Regions from separate parts of the Homo sapiens genome. Here all the other regions are linked to region 3. Evidence: promoter capture Hi-C in 16 types of primary human blood cells and fetal thymus (Javierre and others, 2016). All regions are on one chromosome and are shown on one strand. The core of a region is centred on a gene start or on the middle of the fragment in contact, and the rest is flanking DNA. Distances in the headings are between cores, read along the strand shown. Region 1 has its middle 12 kb from the start of KRT17. Region 2 has its middle 8.6 kb from the start of LINC00974. Region 3 holds the start of KRT28 (keratin 28). Region 4 holds the start of GAST (gastrin). Region 5 has its middle 6.1 kb from the start of EIF1. Region 6 holds the start of LOC124904004 (a long non-coding RNA gene). Region 7 has its middle 7.6 kb from the start of LINC00974.

Region 1 (2,700 bases), core at 167-2,666, 840 kb before region 3:
AGCGAAGCCAAGGTCTCAGCTGGGAGCCCGTTCTGGGCTCCAGGGCCTCTCACTTTCCCTGACCACCTGATACTGACCCTTTTCCTTGAGGGGAAGGGTAGGTGGCCATGTCCCTTTCCTGGGACCTTGTCTCCTCCCCAGTCACTGCTCAGGCTCCATGACCCTAACAATTCAGCAAGCACTCACAGAGCACCTGCTGCATACAGCCCGCGCTGGTTCTGGGCAGGGGTGTGGGGTATGGGGTGGGCACCATCCTAAGGGTTGACAGTTAATCCTTGCGGGGGCTCGTAGGAGCCAAGGCCAGCTGGGCAGACGGGGCATGACCTTGTCTTTTTGTTTTTTCTTTTGTTTTTTTGAGATGGAGCCTCGCTCTGTTGCCCAGGCTGGAGGGCTGTGGGACGATCTCAGCTCACTGCAACCTCCACCTCCCGGGTTCAAGCGATTCTCCTGCCTCAGCCTCCTGACTACCTGGGATTACAGGTACTACCACGCCTGGCTTATTTTTGTATTTTCAGTAGAGTCGGGGTTTCACCATGTTGGCCAGGCTGGTCTCAAATTCCTGACCTCAAGTGATCTGCCTGCCTCGGCCTCCCAAAGTGTTGGGATTACAGGTGTGAGCCACTGATCCTGTCCAGACCTTGTCAACCTTGTCAATATCAATATGCATCTATTGGCTGGGCGTGGTGACTCACTCCTATAATCCCAGCACTTTGGGAGGCAGAGGCAGGAGGACTGCTTGAGCCCAGGAGCCTGAGACCAGCCTGGGTAATATAGTGAGACCCCATCTCTATTTAAAGTAAAAAAAAATGCATCTATTGAACATCTCCTTTCCATAGGGCCCCAGATCATTCTACGCCCTCTGCCTCCCCACAACATAGTAGGGGTGATATTAGGGGACACTGTCCCCAAACCCTAGCTCTGCTCAAATTCCAGGCAGGTCCTGTCTGTGCTGCGCTCTCCAGCATGCTGGCTTTTCTGCACTCTCTGCAGAGGAGACTGAGGGGGAGTCAAGGTGGGGCTGGCACCCAGGGCACTGGGGGAAGCTTCAAGTTCTCCCAGCCACCTCCCTGGGCCTCCCCCTCTCCCACCTGCGCTGGGCTCCAGCAGCCTCTGGGGCTGGAAGAGCCATTGGACCTCTCCTTCTTTACCCCTTTGTCTTCCATGGGGGCCAAGCTGCTGCCGCTGCCGGGGCTGCAGGCCTGGGCTGCCCCTTGCGGGTGCCAGGGATCTCTCCCTGCTGGGGGTGGAGGACAGGCCCAGACAGGATGTGCCACAGCCCAGAGGACCTCTGTGTGGCCCTCCAGCCGGCCCCTGTCAAGCCTTCCTCCCTGGCTGGGAGAGTGGGAGCTGCCGAGGCCCTGGCTTCAGGCCCGGCTCTGATGCCAACATTGGGTTGCCCGACTGCCCGCTGCTCAAGCACCCTGTGTCTTGGTGTCCTCAAGGCACTGTTGTGAGGGTCTCAGGAGGAATGTTTGCATTTTCCTAGCCCTGGCCAGGGAGTGGCCCCACGCTCTGGAGGGCCAGGGAGGCCTTCCTGGGGTCCCACTTCTATCTCTGCTGAGATCTGAGCTGTGCCCTCCTGCCCGGCTGGCCCAGCTGGCCCGGCCTGTCCTCAGCATGTGAGGCTTCTCTGGGTTGGGGGCTAGAGGGGGATTCACAGGCAGTAGAGCCTCTAACGAGCAGTAGCAAAGGGGCCTGGGGGGGGGGTCAGTGGCGTGGGGAAACTGAGGCCCAGAGAGGAAGAGGAGCAGGCTCGCGGCCCAAAGCCTGTCAGGGGTGAGGAAGCTTGTGGGGGCTAAATGGTGGTATTGGGGGTTGGAGGCCTTGGTGATTTTAGAGGCAGAAAGAAGAGTAATAAACTCTCTGCTCCTTCAAATTGGGCCTCAAGACTAAGGTCTGGGTACTCTGGAAGTGGGGTTCCCAGGCAGGGTGAGCACTGGCGGTGTGGGCTCTACGGGGAGGCAGAGGGGTGGTGGCACCCCACGACCTGGCCCCCTCCCTAGGGCCCTGGCTTTGCCCCACATTTGCTGCTGGAAGGCGGGGCAGTCCCTTTTGTGAGCCCAGAGTGAGGCCCACCTGGGTAGCCCAGCTGGCCTAGGGGAGGATGGGGCCTGGGAAGGGAGGGGTTGTTAGGAGAGGATGGGGATGGGGAGGGTCTTGGTTTCGTGTCTCTTCGTGTGTGAGTGCCTGCTGGTGCAGTCTTGACTCTGGCGGCTCAGGTGAGCACGGGTTTTACTGGGTCTCTCTCCTCCCCGAAGACAGTCCTGGATTGCCAGGAAGTCCTTCCAGATGTCTAACCTCGTGCTCATGGTGGTCTGACCTTGCTCTCTAGCCTTGGTTTTGAACCTCCCCCCATCCCCGCCCAGCACCTTCACAGGCTGGGCGGGAGCAGTAAAATCAGGGCTCAACCGCTCTCTTCCAGATAGCTCCTGCCATTCCCAGCTGGCACAGTCCCCAGCTGGCACTTTCCGTGAGAGACCACCCACTATCTGAGCAGGAAGTCTTTCCAGCAGTGTGGTCTCATCTGGGAGCTCTGGGCCACATGGAAAACCCAACTCCCTCCCTGTCCCCGTATGCGGGCAGAGAGCCCAGGCCACCCATGCACTTCTCTCCCCTCTCCTGTTCCGCGGGCCCTGGCTGCCCTGGGAAGCTCCACATTCAGACAGGCCTGGTGCAGACGCCGGTGTCCTGGCAGCACCT
Region 2 (2,700 bases), core at 62-2,561, 750 kb before region 3:
AACCAGTGGTTGGGCAAGGGGGCACAAATATGAGCCAGACCCCAGCCTCAAGGAGCTCACTGGCTGGTAGAGGGGATAAGAGCCAATGAATTCTCACCCATATAGGAAGAGGACAGTGCCTGGGAGAGGGTCAGGTAAAGCACCAGAGGGGCTCAGAGGAGGAAGAGCGAGTGCCAGGGATCACAAAGGCCTGAAGGAAGAGGTGATGTATGAGTTCCACGTTGCTGCTGTAACAAGTGGTGGCAAACTCAGTGGCTTAAAACAACACAAACTTACTATCTTCTAGGCCTGGAAGTCAGAAATCTGAAATGGGCCTTATGGGCTAAAATCAAGGTGTCATCAGAAATGCTTTTTTTCTAGGGGCTCTACGGGAGAGTCTGTCTCCTGGCCTCTTCCAGCCTCCAGGGGCTGCCTGCCTTCCTTGGCTTGTGGGATCTTCCTCCTTCAAAGTGCCTCACTTTGACCTCTGCTTCCATGGTCCCAGCTCCTCTCTGTGACCTTGACCATCTCGCCTCTCTCTTACAAGGACCCTTGTGATTACTTTGGACTCAATCGGATAATCCAGGATAACCCAACCCCCATTCCAAGATCCTTAATGTAATCACATCTGCAAAGTCTCTTTCTGCCATGGAAGGTACATGCTCACAGGTTCCGATTGGCGTATCTTTGGAGGGCCATTATTCTGTCTACTCCAGGCAATGGTGAAGAGGCACAGTTTCAACCTGTGACGGCTGAGGGGAAGGACCCTGCAGGTGGATAGGATAGCCTGAGTAGAAGCAGGCATTTGAGAACCTAAGCACTATTGGCCAGCACCTGTGAGTAATTGCAGGAAGACTGTGATTTTGGGGGACAGGGCTGGAAAGCCAGCCTGGACATGGCCAGTGCCTTGCTCCATTTCCAAATAAATGCAGTTGGCCTCTGAGGCTTAGTGGCAACCGTCAGTGCCTGTGGCATGGCGGGGCTGGCGGGGGGCCTCCTGGATGTGAGGTGAGCCTTGCTGTTCAGTGTCCATCCCTCCCCGACCCACACTTCTCCAGGCCCAGCACGGCTTTATTCAGGACCTGCATGGTGAGTCGGACCCTCGCAGTTGTCCCCTCCGTGAGGCCCTCCATTGGCCCGTCTCTTATCCACCCACACCCCCACTGCCAACAGGCCCGCAGGCAGCACTTGTCCCCTCCCCTGCCTTCCCCAGCCTCCAGGCCTCCAACTCTCCCAGTGTTACGCCTCCAACACACTGAACTGCTCCCTCCCTGAACTCCCCGCATTGTCTCACCTGGCCAGGCCATTTCCCACAGCTTTCCCTGTGCCAGAAACACCCACCACCCGAGCCCTTTTCTTCCCACTCCTCATTCTTCAAATCTCAGCTTTTTGGAAGAACACTTTCCCCTTCCCTCCACCCCACCGCACAGGGAGCAGTGAGCGACTCCCACAAAAATCTTTTTTTTTTTTTTTGAGACAAGGTCTCACTCTGTCACCCAGGCTGGAGTGCAGTGGTGTGATCATGGCTCACTGCAGCCTCAACCTCCTGGGCTCAGGTAATCCTTCCACCTCAGCCTCCCGAGTAGCTGGAACTACAGGCACATACCACCATGCCCTGATCATTTTTTGTAGAGATGTTACCTAGGCTGATCTTGAACTCTTGGACTCAAGCAGTCTACCTGCCTCGACCTCCCAAAGTGCTGAGATTATAGGTGTGAGCCACTGTGCCTATCCTCTCACAAAATCTTTTATAAAAACCCATACCTGGCCAGGTATGGTGGCTCATACCTGTAACCTCAGCACTTTGGGAGGCCGAGGCAGGCAGATTGCTTAAGCCCAGGAGTTCAAGACCAGCCTGGGCAACATAGCAAGAACAGGTCTCTTAAAAAAAAAATTGGCCCAGGCATGGTAGTGCATGTTTGTAGCCCTAGCTACTGAGGAGGCTGAGGCAGGAGGATCACTTGAGCCCAGGAGTTTGAGGCTGCAATGAGCTAGGATTGCGCCACTGCACTCTACCCTGGGTGACAGAGCAAGACCCCATCTCAACAAACAAAAAACCCAAAAAACAGAACAGAAAGCTCCTCCCAGCCCACACCTGCTGAGTGGTTGTCCCCTGCGGTGATGACTGACACATGCCATTTAACCTTCATGTTGCTGGTAATAGCTCTTGATTTTATGGAGTGCCAGATACTGTGCTTCACACCTGATTTTTCATTTATTCCCCCACAAGCCCTCTGAGGTTGGTGTTATTAGCCTCATTTCAGAGGCGGGGACACTGAGGTTCTGACAGGTGAGGTAACGGCCGTTGCATGACATGGCTTTGAAATAAAATGGTGGCTCTGTGAATCAAACCCAGGCCACCCTGGCTCCAAGGCCTGGGCTCTAAACCACATGCCACACTGGTGTGATTATGGTCCATGTTTTATAGGGGAGGAAACTGGAGCTTAGGGAGGTGAATACCTGGGCCTGGCTAATGAGTGGCTCTCACCCCAAGGCGTGGCTCTTTTCAAAGGCCAGGCCTGTCACTGCCTTGCTACATGGTCACTGATTAATCTTGCCTGCTACGCTATACTGCTGGGCCTCTCTTTTGTAGCTATTTGTGTAGATCTTTCCCTCCCCCATTCTCCCCTCTCCCATCTGCTGGGAGCTTGTTGGGGGCTGGGCCTGAGTCTGTTTCGTCTCTGAATTCTGCATGTGGCATAGGGCCTGGCTCAGAGCCCA
Region 3 (2,700 bases), core at 189-2,688:
ACCTTTATCAATCTCCTCCTCACACTCCGCCTGCTCCATGACCTCATAAGGATACCCAATGACTCACCCTCTGCCCTTTTCTTCAGTCCATCTGTCCCTCTGGTTTTACTTTCTTCTTGCTATATGATCATACAGTCAATCGCCTCAATTGTTTTCTCAAGAACACCAGAAATTTCTTTGCCACTATTTCCTTCTTCTGGACCTGTCTTCAAATCCCAAAACCCACATCAATCTGATCATCATCCTTTCTATTCCTGCACCAGGATTACTTCCAAATATGCAGTTGAACATCATTATAAATGAGAGCTGGACCCTCCAATTTTCTTTTACTCATTGCTAGTCAAGTATTTTTCCAGTTCAGTATACATATTCTAAACAGTCATTCTTGCTATCAGTCACCTTCATCTGGAACATTCTGGCAACCCCTCAAATCCAGTTGGTCCAAACCTAAACTCAGTGTCTTCCTCCTCCTCTATTCCCCATCTCAGTGAATATTATGAGTTCCCAGAATCTAAAATTAATTACCTAAGAGTTATCCCCAATTCTGCCTTATTCCCTACTCTCCAAATTCAATCATATTACCATATGCTCTCAAAGCCATCTTCTCTGCATCCCCACTGCCTTCATCCTTCTCACCTGGACCATTATTCCAACCTTGTAATTGACCACCTTGTTTCATTTCAACCTGATCATTTTGCCCTCTGCTTTTTACTTAGGATTCATTACAAACTCTTTAGACCAGCACAGAAAGCTAACCATGATCCAGCCCCTGTCTGGACCTGACAATAGATTTCTTAAAGATTGTAATCACGCATTTTTCACTTCTGCATTTAGTTAACACTATGTCTTTCATTTTAGCACTTAGCATAGAGCACCAAACATCATAACCATGCTATTTTAAACAAAATAATAGGTCAATATTTGTGTCATTGTCCAAGATAATAAATAGATGTTATAATCATGGTAAGAACAGAGATGTCACTAGCCTCTGTTTTCTAAATAACACATTTTTTTCTGGTGGGATAAAATATCTGTTTCTGTAATTAGCAGTCCTTTATACCCCTCCATGGTAATTGAGACCCTACTGTACCTCACAGAACTCTATCATAATCTTACTTAACTTTATAAAAAATTTGATAATACCTGGCGCCAGATAATGACAGTATATGCCTAGGGTCTAGATGAAAGGAAAGGATTACTCACTCAAAATTAGAAGTTAAATTAATAAACTTAATATAGAACAAACCCTATTATATTTAAGATAAGAAATAGCCCAAAGCAACACCGAGGGATGTTAGACATTAATTATTTTTAAAATCACCCAATTATACATAATTTTATGCTAATCTAAGTGATGCCATTTTGCTTTTGGCATGTATAACTCAAATAGGAACGCCCCAATAATGATATATAAAAACCCAAAGAAATTATCAGTGCATGATATTCTGTTCTCTTGGGACATTACAGTTTTGCATAGACAAGGTGAACATTTCTCAAAACACCATGTCTCTCCAATTTTCTAATGGATCCAGGCATGTTTGCTTAAGGTCTGGAGCTGGATCTGTCAGACCCCTCAATGGAGGTGCAGGCTTTGCAGGCAGCAGTGCATGTGGTGGCTCTGTTGCTGGAAGTGAATTTTCCTGTGCCTTGGGAGGGGGCTTGGGCAGTGTTCCTGGTGGGAGCCATGCTGGTGGTGCCCTTGGAAATGCTGCTTGTATTGGCTTTGCTGGAAGCGAAGGGGGACTCCTCTCTGGAAATGAGAAGGTGACCATGCAAAATCTTAATGACCGCTTGGCATCCTACCTGGATAATGTGCGAGCTCTGGAGGAGGCAAATGCTGAATTAGAGAGAAAAATCAAGGGTTGGTATGAAAAATACGGACCTGGATCTTGCCGTGGACTTGATCATGACTATAGCAGATATCACCTAACAATTGAGGATCTTAAGAATAAGGTGAGAAATCACAGATTTGGAACTAACCCAAGTATTTAAAACTAAGAAATACCTAACAAAAGACATACAATAAGAAATGCTTCATGACTGTTATAACTTGTATTTATTTATTTAGATAAACAATTCTTCCTACTATTCAAAAATGGGCCCTTTGATTCATGAATTTTAATGTAGTTAAAATGTTATTAGTTCCATTGTTTATGTTGAAGTACATTCATAGGCATATGAATAAAAAAGTATTGTAGTTCTAAATTTAGGGGAATATATGAGAATAAATAAAACCATGTCTTTAATTTTTAAAAGTTAAACTTGAAACATTTTGATTATTACATAAGGAGGTGAAATTTTTATGCAAAAACTTGAGTAACCTTTTTCATTTCCTGAAATAATGAATCACATAAAAGCATACTTACTTGTTGTGTTCTCTGTTTTGGTTTATTCTAGATTATCTCCTCCACTACTACTAATGCTAATGTCATTCTGCAGATTGATAATGCCAGACTGGCTGCTGATGATTTCAGGCTAAAGTAAGTGACAGAAGAAAATCCTGCTCTAGAAAAAAGTTTCTATTTATTTAATTTGTTAAATAAAATTTCTATTTCATCCCAAGTAGAATGAACTATCACCTAAAAGATAAAAGGAAGCAAAGGATTTGTATTATAATGTTACAATCAACTTATACATAGTTATTATATTCCTGGGACAAAATATCAATATATTTCTCTGCCTGCCTAGAATACTGCCAAG
Region 4 (2,700 bases), core at 93-2,592, 910 kb before region 3:
CTGGAATGCAGTGGCTGGCGTGATCCTGACTCGCTGCAGCCTCGACCTCTTGGGCTCAAGAGATCCTCCCACCTCAGCCTCCTGAGTAGTTGGGACTACAAGTGTGCACTACTATGCCCAGCTAATTTTTTTGTTTTTATTTTTAGTAGAGATGAGGTCTCACTATGTTGCCCAGGCTGGTCTGGAACTCCTGAGCTCAAGCAATCTGCTTGCTTCAGCCTCCCAAAGTGTTGTGATCACAGGCATGAGCCACGGTGCCTGGCCATTAAGTTTTTCATAATCAGGTTTTCTGTTAGGTTTTCTTTGGAAGAAAAGAATTCTGCTGCTGAAGAAATGTTTGAAAAATCAGTGATCTGGAGCTGTATTGTCAGATGCTAACCACATGTGTTGTTCAGTGCTATAGCCACCAGCCACATGTGGCTCTTTACATTTAAATTAATTAAATTAAAAAATTATGGTCAGGTGCAGTGGCTCACGCCTGTAATCCCAGCACTTTGGGAGGCTGAGGGGGTTGGATCACTTGAGGTCAGGAGTTTGTGACCAGCCTGGCCAACATGGTGAAACTCTGTCTCTACCAAAAATATGAAAAATTAGCTGGGTGTTGTGGCAGGCGCCTGTAATCCCGGCTACTCGGGAGGCTGAGTCAGGAGAATTGCTTGAACCTGGGAGGCAGAGGTTGCATGTCACTGCACTCCAGCCTGGGTGACACGGCGAGACTCTATATAAAAAAACAAACAACAACAACAACAAAAACTTCCTTACACTAACCCCATTTCAAGCGCACACGTGGCTAGTGGCTACCATATTGAACAGTGCAGATGAAGACCATTTCCTGCATCATAGGACGTTCTTTTGGATGGCACTGGTCTAGGAAAGGGCTTGAAGTGGGATCCAGGAGCTGTGGATTCCTATCCCAGCCTTGCCTAATAATCCCTGTGACTTTGGGCAAGTCACATCTTGCCTCTGGGCCTCAGTTTTCTTGTCTGAGAGAAAGGAGAAGAACCCCAGTCCTCCTCACCTCCCAGGGCTGGGAAGAGTGTGAAGGGATAGGCTAAGGGCAGGGCCCCGGCTGCGGCAGAAGGGCAGGTGGAAGGCAAGGTTGGGAATACCAGGGTAGGTACTGGAGCCAAGACCTAGTTCCATCCTGGGATAAAGAAAGGGTCCCAGCTCTGGAGACCCCAAGGGGTGAGCCCCAGACTCTGGCCAGTGGCCTGGTACCTTGATGGGGGAGAGGACCTGTCAACCCACTTCCTAGCCTCTCCCCTCTCCTCCTGGGTTTTCTCACCTGCAGAGCTGGGAGGTGTGTGGTGCCACGGCTGGGCCTGGTGCCTCTCAGGTCTCTGCTCTGCTTGATGCTCCAGGCCTGCCTTATAAAGCCCTCAAGGTCCCTCCCAACTGTCCCCCCACCCCGCCCCTACCCTGCCATATGAGTCCAGGCGAGAGGAATGGGGTGGGGCACAGGTACAGCCCATCACCCTGCCCCGCCCTTTCATTTAGTGTCAGTCAGTCATCCAGGATGTGGGGGAAGGATAGGGGAGTTGACCTTCATGGTGAGGGGCTGGAGCGGGGTGGCGGCAGCTCTCCAGCTGTACCTGAGGGGCAGGAACCAAGCTCCCTGGGTCAGGAGCAATGCTTCCCACCATATCCTGGGGGTCAGAGGCCTGGCACTTATCTCTCGAACTACATAGGGACCTTTGTGGGTGGTGGTAGGTGAGGGAGTGAACCCGATGGGCTTAGATTCAGGGAAAGTGGATTTCGCCATCCACTGATGTTTGGCAAGCGTGTGAATGTGGGGTGATGTATTGATTCCCCGTCCCCTCCACTGGACTCTGCAAACATAACGTGTTACCAGGAGCAATGGGTTGTGGGCTGATGGCCCTGTTCTCTCCTTCTAGTGGCTCACATCCTGGTCACCTCTGAAGTCCTTTCACCCTCCCCCTACCATGGAACACCCTTGGTGCCTTCTTCTCCTTAGGCCCTCTGTGCTGGGCTGGGTTTGGCTTGTAGCTGCCCCGTGTCTTCTAGGTCAGCTGCCCATGCACCACCACTTGCAAACCCCCTATGCAGAACCAATTCCTGGAGGGTCCTGCCTTTGAAGCCTCCTTCATTTTGCTTTCAAGGGGAGCTAGTAATCTGCATAACAACTTTTTTTTTTTTTTGAGACAAAGTCTAGTTCTGTCACCAGGCTGGAGTGCAGGAGTGCAGTGGTGTGATCTCGGCTCACTGGAACCTCCGCCTCCTGGGTTCAAGCGATTCTTCTGCCTCAACCTCCCTAGTAGCTGGGATTACAGGCGCACGCCCCCACGCCTGGCTAATTTTTTGTATTTTTAGTAGAGATGGGGTTTCATCGTGTTGGGCGGGCTGGTCTCGAACTCCTGACCTCATGATCGGCCCAGCTTAGTCTGCCAAAGTTCTGGGATTACAGACGTGAGCCACCATGCCCAGCCAACAACTTTTCAGTATCAAAATATACCTTCAAATGGTTAGCAAACAGACTAAAGCATTTGCCAAAGATGGACCAGAAAACAAAATGGTACCTTGTTGACTTATTTGATAAACTGCTGCCTCCACATGGTTTGACCAGATGTAATGAGCCGTAGGCTGTTTTTTACTTTTCCACTGTTGAGAGCAGAGATTTTGCTCCTGTTCATGCGTCATTGGGCCCCCACCTTTTCTGGGAGAGTTTGATCCCCTTGGGTA
Region 5 (2,700 bases), core at 40-2,539, 900 kb before region 3:
AGCAGGAGGGGGCAACAAGGGTGCATGGTGCCTAGCAGGAGACCCCACTGCACTCCAGCCTGGGAAACAGAGTGAGACTCTGTCCCCCCACCAAAAAAAAAGTTAAAAATTGGTCAAGGAGCTCTTAATTGAAAAATTGTAAAGCCTTGTGCACAGTAAACTGTGTTTTTACACTACTGCCACAAGGGGGCACCATCGAGGCTGATAAACCAGGAAGGGGGTCATGTTCAGTTCTCCAAATATGCTATGTGTTTTTCTGGCTTATTCATAGAGTTGACAGCAATTGGAATAGGTTCTAAAGTTGTTTTGTAGCTTCTTATGCAGTTTTAGCTGACCAGTTTTCATTTTGTCTTCATAACACCATCTTAAGAAACACTCAGTTTGTCCTTGCGTGTAGCTGTTGCAGCGTGTGGGGATGGGGGCAGGAGGGCTGGGGGGGTTTGGGGTGGGAGAGGAGGACTAAGGAGCAGAGAGCTGAGGGACCTTTTCAGCATAATCAATCTTTCTTTTTTTTGTTGTTGTTTTTGTTTTTGAGACGCAGTCTCGCTCTGTTGCCCAGGCTGGAGTGCAGTGGCACGATCTCGCCCGCCACCACGCCCAGCTAATTTTTGTATTTTTAGTAGAAATGGGATTTCGCCATGTTGACCAGGCTGGCCTCGAACTCCTGACCTCAAGTGATCTGCTGGCCTTGGCCTCCCTAAGTGCTGGGATTACAGGCGTGAGCCACTGCGCCGGCTTCCAGGTGCCTTTTCACCTCTGGGTGTGACTCTTTTTCTCTGCTCGAAATGCTTGGCTTCAGACAGCACCTCCTTTATGAAGCCTTCTTGGCCCCCTTGGCTGAGGATGGGAGTGGGGAAGATTTCGCAGTCCTCAGAGATCCTGTGGCTCTTTGGGTCCCTTTCTGTCCTGCGTCAAGGCTGTGTGCTGGTCTTACATCTACCTACCAGGCAGTCAGCTCCCTGAGTGCAGGGGGTCTGCCTGACATGCCCTGTAGTGTACTACAGATACCAAGCACTCAACAATCTCTGTAAGATGAGCATTTATTTATTTATTTCTGCTCCCACTCCACCGGGAAAATGAGTTACAGAAATTGTGAATGTACAGGTGCAGCTGGTGGGAGGAGGGGTACACAGGGAGTCCTGGGTTCTAGATGAGGCTCCACAACTTACCTTGGGAATGTCCACATCACATTGTTTTCTTTTTTTGAGACAGTGTCTATCTCTGTCACCCAGGTTGGAGTGCAGTGGTGCCATCTTGGCGCACTGCGACCTCTGCCTCCTGGGCTCAAGCCATTTTCCCACCTTGGCCTCCCCAGTAGCTGGGAGCATAGGCATGCAACACCACGCCTGGCTAATTTTTGTATTTTTTGTAGAGACAGGGTTTAGTCATGTTGCCCAGGCTGGTCTCGAAGTCCTGGACTCAAGCAATCTGCCTGCCTTGGTCTCTCAAAGTGCTGGGATTACAGGCATGAGCCACCATAACCAGCCATCATGCCTTCTTTTTTTTTTTTGGAGACGGAGTCTCGCTCTGTTGCCCAGGCTGGAGTGCAGTGGCGCAATCTTGGCTCACTGCAACCTCTGCCTCCTGGGTTCAAGCGATTGTCCTGCCTCAGCCTCCCACCTGGGACTACAGGCGCACGCCGCCATGCCCGGCTAATTTTTTGTATTTTAGTAGAGACAGGGTTTCACCGTTGTTGCCCAGGCTGGTCTCGAACTCCTGAGCTCAGGCAATCCGCCTGTCTTGGCCTCCCAAAGTGCTAGGATTACAGATGTGAGCCACCGCGCCCGGCCCATCATGACTTTTTAATTATACTTTTCTTCATTCAGCCTGAGATAGGTTACATCAGGTGGATAAGGGTGTTCACCAACTTCCTCAGTTCTGTGTTCACAGATACTTGTTTCGCTTGGCTTCACAGAGCTGATTTAATAGATGTTGATGGTTTAACTTGGAATAATCCCATCCTAGAGAATTGGAGGTCCTTAAAAAGCATGAGATGGAACAGCCTAGCACAGAACCTGGCCGTGTTCACAACCTACAGCATAGAAGGAATTCTCTTCTCTTGCTGTTTCATCCTGATTGTAGTATTTTGTGTGTTTGGCCTCCCGCCTTGCTCTAGAAGTTCCTCCAAGAAAAAACCTCCTACATTACAGTCAAATCTTACTGATTTAAAAGTCTCACCCAGCCAGGCACGGTGCTCATGCCTGTAATCCCAGCACTTTGGGAGGCTGAGGCAGGCGGATCACAAGGTCAAGGAGATCGGGACCATCCTGGCCAACATGGTGAAACCCTGTCTCTACTAAAAATACAAAAATTAGCCAGTCGTGGTGGCACGTGCCTGTAGTCCCAGCTACTCGGGAGGCTGAGGCAGGAGAATCGCTCGAACCTGGGAGGCAGAAACTGTAGTGAGGCGAGACCGTGCCATTGCACTCCAGTCTGGGCAACAGAGCAAGACTCCATCTCAAAAAAAAAAAAAATTCACTCAAATATTTTGAACAATGCCACTGTATTTGGAGCCTTGGTTGGCTCCAAGGCTAAATTATTTTGTGTTCATGAAACAGACTGGTTTTGTAGGACCTTTAACACGACAAGCTCCTGATGCTGGGGTTAGAATCATTGCTATAGTTTGAATGCTCCACCCAAACCAAAACCCATGTTGAAATTTAATTGCCAATTGAACAGTTATTGGGAGGTGGGGCGCTT
Region 6 (2,700 bases), core at 124-2,623, 860 kb before region 3:
GATGCCACAGGGACCCAGACTCCCTGTGTCTCTCATATCCCGAGACGCAGACCCTGTCAGGGAAGGGGCATGTGGCAGCGGGGCAGGCATGCCTGTGCCAGGCTGGGGCCACCAAGCACTGGTGGCAGCATAGACCTTGGGGTCTCTCTGTGCACAGCAGGGCCACCAGCAGGGCCAGGGCAAAGGTCTTCATGGTGTGGGAACTGCTCATTCTCGCTCTCTCTGGCCGGGCTGCAAGGCAAGTGGTCCCTTCCCCTGCCCCGCCATCTTTTGGCCTCACCTTCCTCCCTCCCCATGGAAGGCCCACACTCCTGTGTTCCTTGTGGCACTGCCTGGTCACAATCTCAAGTCCTCTTCCTTTCTTCCCTACCTGCACCCCCCACCCCCTAATTCAAGCCTCGGCGTCTCCACCCTCCCCAAGCCATCCCTGCCCCATCAACGAGGGCCAGCTCTATGCCCCTGATGACCTGCCAGCCTCCTGAGCCAGGCTGTGCACTCTCTGACTGCCAGGCCAGCCTCTGTCCTGCTTCCCCTACTTCCTGCTCAGAGCCGGTCATGCTGAGGCTGCGATGGAGACCTGGGAGCAGGAGGCAGCAGGGGATTCCTTGGGCTGTGGCTCTCATCATTGCTGAGAGAGGGAGAAAGGGCCCGGCCATTCCTGACCACAGCCCTGGGCTCCTGCACTCAGCCGGGCACTCACTGCATGCCAGCCTCAGACAGGGCAGTAGGGCCGCCTGGATGTGTACTGAGCCCTTCCAGCCAGGGCTTCAAGGCCGGGTCACAACTCCCGGCTCAGTGCCCAACTCCTCAACCCCTCAGCATCCACCTGCCCAGCTCATGACAGGGAGGACAAAACAAAGGAGGCCCCTGTGGGACTACACAGGCCAGCTCCTGACACTATATAGGTGGGGAAACTGGGGCCCAGAGAGGGGCGGTGACTTGTCCAAATTCATGGGCCCAGAGCTGGGCTCCTAGGCCTCTCTCCCGGGCGGCCTGAGTTAGGCCGTGGTGCCGTCAGTCCCGGAAGGTTGGGACACCCACGGCAGTACCTGACTTGCCGGGGCCCAGCCTCCAGCCCACAGCCCTGCTTTGAGCAGCAAGGGAGGCTGCCCCGCCCCCAGCGTCTCCTCCTGCCTGACTGAGTTTCCCAGAGCCAGCAGAAAGGCAGGGCCGATGCAGGTCTGAATCCGCCCAGGGATCTGGCAGTCCCAGCTGGCTTGCCCTGCCCTCGAGCCCTGGGAGCGGGAAGTGAGCCTCCCCACCTCAAATCCTCCACCTTCCCTGCCACCCACACCTTCAGCCCGGGGCCCAAACATGGCAGGGAGCCAGGCCCCTCACCTCCCTCCTTGGTAACCGAGGCAAACACCCAACACTGGAGACTGTTTGTCCTGCCAACGCTGCACCCCAACCTGAGCCCAGACGCCCTGCCGCAGTTGGGAGAAGCCTGGCTGGGGGAGGGGACGTGGCAGGGGCAGCCAGAACCTGTGGGCTTGGGGACCCTTCCCCTCCACTCCAGTTCCCCAGGAGCTTCTGAGTGAGCACAGGGCAGCGGGGCTGTTGTCTCAGCACCTTTGACTGTGAGGCCCCCAACCTCAGCCTCTGCTCCACCCCTAAGACTGTGCGCCCGGAAGGTGGAGAAGGGCTGGCTGGGGTGAGAGGGTCTGTGCTTGAACTACAGCAGAGAAAGAGAGCAGAGGGAGAAAGTTCTCTCTGGCCAGCCCAGCTGTGGGAGGGCTCAGGGAGGGAGGCCAGTGGGCCCTTTCTTTGCAGGCAGGGAGGGATGGGAGATTCTACCAGCGCCAGACCTGGGGGGCTCTGCCTCCTGATCCCCAGGGTCTGGGTGGGCACCGTGAGGCACTCCAGCGTCGCGTTTGGGGGCTGGCTGGGTGGGCAAGGAGGTGGATGTCAGGGCCTGGGGAGGCTGGGGTAAGGTGGCGCCAGGAGGGGACGGGCAGTTTTTCTGGCCTTCACTGGCCTGTGGTTTCCGCAGTGCAGGGCATGGGACTGTGGGGCGATGGAGCAAGGAGGATGGAGTTTCTGTCCCTGGGAAGCCTCTTGTCTGAGGGGAGACATGCCCCGAGCCTTCAGGGACCGCCTAGTCGGAGGGGGAGACACAGCCCTTGTCCTGGGGAGTTTGGAATAACCGTATTGGGGCCAGGGACAGAGGATGATGGAGTCACCCTGCTCTGCATGGAGCACGGGACCACCCGGCCTCACGGGGCTGGGCAGACGCTTCTGTTTCTTCTGCATGGAGCACGGGATCACCTGGCCTCATGGGGTTAGGCAGACGCTTCTGTTTCTTAGGAAGAGGTCTGTTTGCTTCTCAAATGCTTCCCGGGAACCTCCTCCACCACTGCAGCCCTGCACTGTGGGCAGGAATGTCACTAGCCCCCTTTTACGGATGAGGAAACTGAGGCTCAGGCATCTGGGAAAATGTGCTGTGGGCAGCCCCCCCGGACAGAGCTGTGCTGGCACCCTCCAGACAGTGCAGGAGAAGGGCAGGTCCCACAGAGTCCCTGCTGTTCCCCCAAGTCCTGAGGCCAGGGGGTGCTGTCTCTACTCTCAGTCCCCTGCCAGGACCTGTCCCCTGGTTCAATCCCAGGCAGGCCAGCGGGGAGGGTGGGGTGGGAGACTTGGTTCTGCTGAGGCTGCAGCTTCCCTGGCCCACCTAGGCTGAGTCAGGGCTGGGCAGGAGCCGAG
Region 7 (2,725 bases), core at 135-2,634, 760 kb before region 3:
GGCTCTAGCAAGACACCTGAGCAGTGAGAGTCTGTGATCTCTTTTCTAGCGCTCCGCTGTTAATATGCAACTGTTTACTCTTCTCTGGTTCTTTTTCTGCTACCTGCTGTCTTCCTCATCTACCATTTTACATATCTTTTTATTTATTTTATTTATTATTATTATTATTTTTTGAGACGGAGTCTCACTCTGTCGTCCAGGCTGAAATGCAGTGGCACGATCTCAGCTCAATCCAACCTCTACCTCCCGGGTTCAAGCGATTTTCTGCCTCAGTCTCCTGAGTAGCTGGAACTACAGGCACCTGCCACCACGCTGAGCTAATTTTTGTATTTTTAGTAAAGACGGGGGTTTCACCATGTTGGCCAGACTGGTCTTGAACTCTTGATCTCAGGTGATCCACTTGCCTCGGCCTCCCAAAGTGCTGGGATTACAGGTGTGAGCCACAAGGCCTGGCCCATTTTATGTATCTTTTCTCTACCTCAATTTGGGAAATTCTCCACCTTAAGTGTGAAGCTCCCCAAGGGAGAGGTCAGAAACTTGCTTTTCCGAGCTCACCTGCATCTAGGGCATGGGCCCCTGACAGCCCTGCCACTCAGGTGCGCCCGCACAAGACGTTTTTTTTTTTTTTTTAACCATGGCACCCCATTGGAGTGAAGGACTTTGATTTTGATTTAAAGGAGGTGCTGAGTGGAATTTTTTATGGCAGGAACAAGGTTGGGCAGAGATATGTGATTTTTTGAGGAAGCAATAGCAGCGGCTCTGGCAAAGACATGCAGTGCCCATCATCCATAGTTTGAGCTTCAATTTTGGTGGCCAGAAGTGACAGCAGTGGTGTGTTCCTAGAGCAATCCTTGAGTGTGATTTGGGGAATTTTTCTGTTTGCATACCCTCCAAGTTTGATTCTCTGCACATCCTGGAAAAGATGCCCAGTAGTTGCTCATTATTTCACAGGGAATACATTCAAAGATCCTGACTGGATGCCCAAAACTGTGGATAGCACCTAAATCTATCTACACTATGCTTTTTCCTACACATTCATACTTAAGATACAGTTTACTTTATAAATTAGGCAGACCAAGAGATTAACAACAATAACTAATAAAATAGAATCGTTATAACAATATACTGTAATAAAAATTATTTGAATGTGGTCTCTCTCTTTCAAAATATCTTATCATACTGTAGATCTTAGCAACCTCAGCGTATGGTTTTTTTCTTTCCGTAGTAAGTTTTGAACTGTCATCTTTTCTCTTAAAGAAAGCATTTTGCTGGCTGGGCGCGGTGGCTCATGCCTGTGATCCCAGCACTTTGGGAGGCCAAGGCTGGAGGATCACCTGAGGTCAGGAGTTTGAGACCAGCCTGACCAGTATGGAGAAACACTGTCTCTTCCAAAAATACAAAATTAGCCAGGCATGGTGGCGCATGCCTGTAATCTCAGGTACTTGGGAGGCTGAGGCAGGAGAATCGCTTGAACCCGGGAGGCAGAGGTTGAGGTAAACCGAGATCACGCCATTGTGCTCCAGCCTGGGAAACAAGAGCAAAACTCCTTTTAAGAAAAAAAAAAAAGCACTTTGTGGCTTCCCTTTGGCAAATCTGAATTATCAGCATCACTGCTCTTGCACTTTGGGGTCGTAATTAAGTAAAATAAGGGAACACAAGCACGGCAATACTGCAACAGTTGATCTGACAACTGAGACAGCTACTAAGCGACGACTAGTGGGTGGGTGGTGCATAGAGCATGGAGAGCTGGACAAAGGGATGATTCCTGTCCTGGGCTGGACAGAGTGGGGCAGTGTGAGATTTCATCATGCTCTTCAGGGCAGCACACTTCAAAACTGACAAATTGTTTATTTCTGGAATTTTCCATTTAATATTTTTGGATGACAGTTGACCACAGGTAACTGAAGCTGTGGAAAGCGAAACCATGGATAAGGGGAATGACCGTGTTGCTTTCTCTGCAGGTGAAAGCATATTTATTCTGGTACTCTTTGTTTATTGGGATAAAGAAAAAAGAATTTCCCACAGCAGGTGCCAGGGTCAATGGTGATCTGCTTTAGAAAAGGGACACAATCTGGATCAACGACTGCTGTTGGAACAACCATGTGATAAATTGTAAAATAATTCATGGCTATTCTCTAACATCTGTTCATGTTCTGCACAGAAAAACTAGGCAAGTTAACCCTAAATTTATCATTTTTTTTTTGAGACAGGGTCTCTCTCTGTTGCCCAGGCCGGTGGGCAGTGGTACAATCACAGTTCACTGAAGCCTTGACCTCCCAGGTTCAAGCAATCCTCCTACCTCAGGCTCCCAAGTAGCTGGGACTACAAGCGTGTGCCACCACGCCAGACTAATTTTTGAGGTTTTTTTTTTTTTTTTTTTTTTTTTTAAACTAGAGACAGGGATCTCACTCTATTGCCAGGGCTGATCTTACATTCCTGTGTTCTCTCCCCATCTTGCCCTTCCAAAGTGCAGGGATTACAGGCATGAGCCACCACTCCTGGCCCATCAAATCTTTCATGTGGCACTAATCTCTGTCATTCCCTTAGAGATGTAGTGTTGCTGGTCCTTTTTCTAAACCACGTAATCCTTACTGGTAAGGATCAGGATCCTTTTACTGACTATGTCTAGTCCACTCCAGACACTGGGAAATAACCACAGGATTGGTCTGGGATACCACTGGGCTCATGAGAAGCAAACTTGGGCTAAAACTCCATTTGTCATCTG

The links. The method cuts DNA at HindIII sites, captures the fragments that hold promoters and counts their contacts. A CHiCAGO score of 5 or more calls a contact.
Region 1: a contact is called between a fragment that was not itself captured here and the fragment with the promoter of KRT28 in region 3, in 13 of 17 cell types (M0 macrophages, non-activated CD4 T cells, naive CD4 T cells and 10 more). The highest score is 11.5, in M0 macrophages.
Region 2: a contact is called between a fragment that was not itself captured here and the fragment with the promoter of KRT28 in region 3, in 17 of 17 cell types (M2 macrophages, M0 macrophages, M1 macrophages and 14 more). The highest score is 25.7, in M2 macrophages.
Region 4: the fragment with the promoter of GAST here is called in contact with the fragment with the promoter of KRT28 in region 3 in 1 of 17 cell types (naive CD8 T cells); the score reaches 5.3 in naive CD8 T cells.
Region 5: a fragment that was not itself captured here is called in contact with the fragment with the promoter of KRT28 in region 3 in 5 of 17 cell types (naive CD8 T cells, non-activated CD4 T cells, naive CD4 T cells and 2 more); the score reaches 9.2 in naive CD8 T cells.
Region 6: a contact is called between a fragment that was not itself captured here and the fragment with the promoter of KRT28 in region 3, in 16 of 17 cell types (M0 macrophages, non-activated CD4 T cells, naive CD4 T cells and 13 more). The highest score is 33.3, in M0 macrophages.
Region 7: a fragment that was not itself captured here is called in contact with the fragment with the promoter of KRT28 in region 3 in 7 of 17 cell types (M2 macrophages, M1 macrophages, M0 macrophages and 4 more); the score reaches 11.6 in M2 macrophages.

Annotation. Positions count from the first base shown.
Region 1 is chr17:41,635,497-41,638,196 of GRCh38, reverse strand. It overlaps the pseudogene KRT42P. Among named protein-coding and RNA genes, the nearest start is that of KRT17, 12 kb to the right of the region's middle. The HindIII fragment of the contact is 742 bases long and covers 1,046-1,787 here.
Region 2 is chr17:41,544,527-41,547,226 of GRCh38, reverse strand. No RefSeq gene overlaps it. Among named protein-coding and RNA genes, the nearest start is that of LINC00974, 8.6 kb to the left of the region's middle. The HindIII fragment of the contact is 7,630 bases long and covers 1-2,700 here.
Region 3 is chr17:40,798,697-40,801,396 of GRCh38, reverse strand. KRT28 (keratin 28) reads left to right here and starts at 1,438. Exons shown (of 8, transcript NM_181535.3): 1 at 1,438-1,953; 2 at 2,398-2,480. The coding sequence starts at 1,504. LOC105371776 (a long non-coding RNA gene) reads right to left here and starts at 63. Exons shown (of 4, transcript XR_934753.2): 1 at 1-63. RefSeq lists an enhancer at 2,260-2,700. The HindIII fragment of the contact is 3,919 bases long and covers 1-2,700 here.
Region 4 is chr17:41,710,973-41,713,672 of GRCh38, reverse strand. It overlaps GAST (gastrin), which reads right to left and starts at 1,342. Exons shown (of 3, transcript NM_000805.5): 1 at 1,286-1,342. The HindIII fragment of the contact is 7,695 bases long and covers 1-2,700 here.
Region 5 is chr17:41,693,640-41,696,339 of GRCh38, reverse strand. No RefSeq gene overlaps it. Among named protein-coding and RNA genes, the nearest start is that of EIF1, 6.1 kb to the right of the region's middle. The HindIII fragment of the contact is 4,888 bases long and covers 1-2,700 here.
Region 6 is chr17:41,654,357-41,657,056 of GRCh38, reverse strand. LOC124904004 (a long non-coding RNA gene) reads left to right here and starts at 1,923. Exons shown (of 2, transcript XR_007065756.1): 1 at 1,923-2,700. RefSeq lists an enhancer at 2,112-2,700. The HindIII fragment of the contact is 2,956 bases long and covers 1-2,700 here.
Region 7 is chr17:41,560,775-41,563,499 of GRCh38, reverse strand. No RefSeq gene overlaps it. Among named protein-coding and RNA genes, the nearest start is that of LINC00974, 7.6 kb to the right of the region's middle. The HindIII fragment of the contact is 7,476 bases long and covers 1-2,725 here.